Linked DNA regions of Homo sapiens: region 1 is linked to region 2. The links are contacts of gene promoters, found by promoter capture Hi-C in blood cells and fetal thymus (Javierre and others, 2016). All regions are on one chromosome and are shown on one strand. The core of a region is centred on a gene start or on the middle of the fragment in contact, and the rest is flanking DNA. Distances in the headings are between cores, read along the strand shown.

Region 1 (2,700 bases), core at 31-2,530, 470 kb before region 2:
TATATTTTATATATATGAATCTGTGAATGTGTATGTGCTTACTAACACACACTTCTATAACACATAGATGTATCTGTATATGTTTGTGTACATATATATGTAAAAGACAGCATGGCATAAATATATGCCATCATTTTGTAAATACAAGATTGCTATTTTAGGCTAGTATATTTTCACATTTTATCTTTAGATTCTGCAAAGGCTTAAGAGATGCTCATGTGGCTATTTTAGAAAAGTAATTGGATTATATAGCAAACTAAAATAGTCTGTTGACATTGAGACAAAGATAAGTGAAAGCTGTGTATATTACTGCAATTTGTTGTCAACAAGAAATCACTGTGTGCTTACTTCATGAAAGGAACTGCTTGAAAGACTCAAGAAATCATCACATTCATCAGTGGTTTTCTTTATTCATGTGGTGGTCATAAGCATTAAGGAAGGGACCATAATTTGCAAAGAGAGCTTTTACAAACTTTAAGTAAATACTTATTGAACATCTACTTTGTAAGAGGCCCTATGAAGACATTACAGGAGCATATATGAATCTTGATGATTATTTATATTTTCCAGCACAGTGTGAGTGTCAAGTTCTATTCTAGCACAGTGTTGGTGTTAGATTCTATTCTAATATATTTTCCTGATAGGTGAAAAACGTTTATCGCCTAAGTTTTCAGTGTAATATATTTTACACAAATATGTGTGAGTAATCTGAGTACTGGCAACTCGTCTAGATTTACTTCATTCATAGAGACCATGACTGCTGAGTATCTACAAAAAGAGCTCTAGAGGAAGTAACAAAATTAACTGTGAGAATAAAAAATGTATAGAAGGTTTCAAACCAGAATAGGTCAGTGGTCCATCTAATTGAGTATGCAGTTTCTGAGTATTTCAATAAAAATCTAAGATTAGATCATTTAGAGATAGTCATCAATATGGCATTAAAAAGTCACTTAATTTTCAATCGTCTACTGCAAAGCAAAATCATTTTTTGCTCCACCTAATGATGTACTTAGAGTCAAGCTAAAAAGTTATTACCTATCTAAATATTGAATATAAAAATAATTTTATTTAAAATAACAACTCTTCCTATCACACAACTTCAGAAAAATAAATCATGAACTTTTAATCACTTCTGCTTACTACATATACACAAGTTTTTTTTATGGACTTCTAAATTGTGAGAAACAGAGGAGGTTGCTTAATAAGAATATGAAAATATTTGTTAAAGTAATAAAATACTTAATTTTGAGACTCTCAACCTAAGTTTTATAACCTGGATGTTGAACAGAAATTCTTGAAACATCATTATTTTTCTTTTGTAGAATACACATTATATTTATATATGCTGTAAACTTCACAGGTCTGTAATCCACAAGAAAATTAAAGCTGATACATGTAAAAGCACTGTTATACTAAACAATTATATTTAAATATAGGAATCACACTATACAGAGTGACAAACTATCTTTTTATTTTAATACAATTAATTGTGTAAATAAGCCAGCTAATGGTGGATTTTTAAAGCATGATTTTAGAAGTGAATGTGTTTTTTATCATAGAAGTAACAATTTTCTAAAGTAATGGACATTTGCCAAAATTATAGAATAATATTCAGAAGTTTTGGTTAGGGTCTACTATTGGTAAATCTATTAGCTTCATCAACACTTGGTAAGAAATTACCTAAACAAATAAATATAAGGTAAATAAAATTTCAGTAAAAATGAAAAGAGTAGCAACATAAGAAACCCATTTTTATGCCACCCACTGAAAAGCAAGGTATTAAAGCAACATGAAAAAAAGATCCAGTCATTTGAGTTCTCGCAATTAATTTTATTATATCCTTCCTAAAATTGAAAAATGAATGAGAGGTACAAAAACTTTTACACATTTAGGGGATATTCCAAATATATGCAAAACCCTGCACTCAGAACATTCACTAAGTTGACAGACCCTTACATTTTTATGGGGCTTATCTCCTATGCTCTAGCATGTGTCTTTCTAAGTCTGCTACTTCCTACCCCCAGATTCTGACATCATGATGTCTTCACTGCCATAAACCGGTGGTAAAATCCTATGAGATGGAGAGATAATCCATATCCCAGAAGACCAAAATAGGGCATCAAGACTAAGAGTCAAAGAAAGATGCTGAATTTATACTTCTGCCCTTAGTTTTCTAATTCTTTCTGTATACTGGTATAAAAAAATTAAATATTATTGCCACGTGCCAGATGACAGAGGTTATATTGATTTACTTTAATACAAAGAACACATATGAGATAGTAGCAAGCAAGGAAACATCACCTGATTAAACCTAAAATAAATTGTTGCCATTTTTCATGTTCTATCCCAAGAAAACAGACAAGTAAAATATGAACACAGTAGAAATCAACATTTCATCTTCCAAGTTTTGGACAGTGATGTTAATTTCTGCTTTTCCCAAAGGATGTATTATTGAATATAGTTTAAATTTTGTCAGAGTATTAATTCAGGGAATTACATTCTTTCTCATATAACCCTAGTCCCAGGCACGTGAAAGCCAAAAGAAAAAACACAGATATGAGTCTACCAATTTCTGAAAAATAACACCATACCCATGAGCTTGGAAAATTAAAAAATTAATGGATTCATATAAATGTCATACTAATTTTTAAATCATTTTAGGCAGAACTTTAACACCTAAATCCCCAAACCAATTCATAA
Region 2 (2,700 bases), core at 17-2,516:
AAAAAAACTGGCGAACAGAGGAAACTCTTGCAGCCTCGCAGCCGCCCTGGTCCAGTGCCAACGGCAGGAGCACCACAGGAAGGGACCGCGCGGGTGCGCCCCACCCTTCCAGCGTCGCCTCGGGGACTCGCACCCCTTTCCCTGGCCGCACAAGACGTTTCATCCTTGGCGGCCGCCGCCAACCCGCCGGGAGGGGCGGTCGGAACTGGCAGGCCGGGGCGGAACCCCCGGGGTCTCCTTGTCGAGGCCCGGGCAGCCAGATCCTCAGGGCCGGTCCGGGCGGGAGCCCGGTCGATGGAGGCGGCTCCCGTCCTCAGCTCCCGCTCCCTCCCCTTCCCCGGGGCGGGCGCGCGCGGGCCGGGAGCTGGGAGGCGGCGGCTCCCGCCCGGGAGGCGGTGGCGAGGGCGGCGGAGGCGCGGCCGGGCGGGTCCCAGGGCCGTGGTTCTCCAGCGCAGGAGTCCCCGGCGCACCCGCTGCGCTCGCCCCGCAGCCGCAGCCTGAGCGGCCGAAGTCGCCACCAGCTGTGTCCGCGCAGATCCCGGGCGCGGAGGGGAGAGGTCGCCCGCTTGTCGCCCCCGCCGGACCCCGGGCACCGCGTAGCACCCAAGCGCCACCCGGACGAGGGGCCCTGGGGAGCGGCTGAGGCCGAAGACCCGAGGGAAGGAGGAGCCCGCGGACGGCTGCAGCCCCAGGTAATCTCCATGGAGGACGGGGCCGGTCTCCTCGCCCAGAAACCCGATCCGGGCGCCTTGGAATGCGGACTCCAGAGGCGGCATCTCGACCAGACAAGTTTCTCGCGGCTTGGAATGAGGGAGTCCTGAAACCGACACTCGTTTTATTTAACCAGCTTTTTTCTCCTGTTTTAAATAAGTTTATTTAGACAATGGAAAGAAAAAAACAAACAGCCTCTTGAGTGACTGTGGGTTTGTAAATATAATCCTAAAAGTTTTTCATGGTGTGGTTATTTGCTTGCTCATATTTATTAACCTGTTAACTCTTCCGCTAGTCAGAAAATTGACATGTAAAATATTCTTTGAGGAACGTTACAAGTTTGCTGTTGTATTCGGGCATCCTGTTATTCATCAGCTTAGTTAGCATCTGTCTTCCCCCGAAGTGGTACCAAAGCCGGTCCCTTGGCGACGGGTCTTGCATGTGACACTCTTGCCCTCTAGTGCCTCACCAGCTTGGTAGCAGTTTGATGGCTAATATTAATAAGATGTTACATAACATGAGAGTACTGGGCCAGGACTGGTGTTGCTACCACTTGTAAAGTCAAAAAGCCTGAGCCGATGGTAACGAGTGGTACTGTTTCCGTTTCTTTTCCATCTATTGCAACTTTCTCAAGCATTTTCAGCTCTGAACTTTAATTCCAGGTAAGTGTATTTATTTATTTATACTGTGCATTAATGCCTCACTCATAAATGTAGGGGCTTTTAAGAGATAACAACTTTGCTTTCAAATAATCTAAAAATTTCAAGATTGAACAAGTGCTTCATTTTATTCTTGAAGAAGAAATATAGAGTATTTTGATTAAATTAAGTGAAACAAAGGACCGTCTCATTCAGGGATGATTTTAAAGCTTCCCTTTCATAAGATTATGGTACTAAAGAAATGACCTCTTGTAATTGTTTAAGATATTCACCAACTTATAATGATTCTGAAGTAGATCTGTTTAACAGAACACATGTCTGTTGCCTTGACAGAATTTTGTAAGGAATATCAGAGACTTTAAACTACCTGCCTATCTACACAGTAATGATCCTCAAAAGGCTTTCTATTTGATGCAGTTTATAGACATTATTTAAAACTATACAATTAATAAAATTAAATGGAAATGGAAAGAATCAATCTAGGTATCAAATACAGAAACTTTAAATTTAAAGAAAACAGATATATCTTCTATTTAATATATCCATTTTGTGGGGGCAGGTAAAAGCAAAGTTACATCTTTAAGGGGTTTACTCAGATCCTTTTTCAAATAGTTTTTCTAATAGCTGGATACTGTTTAAGCATCAGAGTTATTTAATGTCGAAAATGTATTAGTATCTATATTCTTTATAAACATATTGAAATATAGCAACATGTAATCTGGAAGAGTTTAGAAGAAAACCCTTCTAGACAATGCAAACAGCTACATTCTTAATACATTTGTATTAAATTAAAATACAAATCAAATATTGAGATGTGTGCAACTGATCTGGGACACACACTTTTTTTTTGTTTTTTTTTTTTGCCCTTAGAAAATTTCATGTTATCAACTACTGAGCAATGCTGTTCACCACCAGAGAGCAGGATGATATGGCAGAGAAACTCTAGAATATCCGATATTCAGCTGAAGGGAATTTTTTTCCCTTTTTCTTCATCCATACCTTCCTATCAATATTATATTTAAGATGGAGATTTCAAATATAAGTTTGAAGGAGGCTCCTTTTTAAAATAGTACTGAACATATAAAGAGGCTTGCCTAAGATAAGCTCTTTTTTTTCTTTCTCTGGTTAACACAGTATCTACCATTTCTAATTTTGTTATCATTTTTCTTTATCATCTTGATGGTAAAACAGAAGATTTGTTTCTTTGTGTAAATAATGTTAATTTTGAGCTTGTCACATGAGTTAATTTTCTTCATAGTCTTTAAAATGAAGAATTCTTACATTACTAAAATGTTTTAGATAAAATAAAACTTTTATCTCTTTCTGGAGA

The links. The method cuts DNA at HindIII sites, captures the fragments that hold promoters and counts their contacts. A CHiCAGO score of 5 or more calls a contact.
Region 1: a fragment that was not itself captured here is called in contact with the fragment with the promoter of NDST3 in region 2 in 1 of 17 cell types (megakaryocytes); the score reaches 5.5 in megakaryocytes.

The regions. Positions count from the first base shown.
Region 1 is chr4:117,566,973-117,569,672 of GRCh38, forward strand. All of the region lies in intron 2 of LINC01378 (long intergenic non-protein coding RNA 1378), which reads left to right. Among named protein-coding and RNA genes, the nearest start is that of LINC01378, 140 kb to the left of the region's middle. The HindIII fragment of the contact is 8,689 bases long and covers 1-2,700 here.
Region 2 is chr4:118,033,220-118,035,919 of GRCh38, forward strand. It overlaps NDST3 (N-deacetylase and N-sulfotransferase 3), which reads left to right and starts at 1,267. Exons shown (of 14, transcript NM_004784.3): 1 at 1,267-1,373. The HindIII fragment of the contact is 5,573 bases long and covers 1-1,577 here.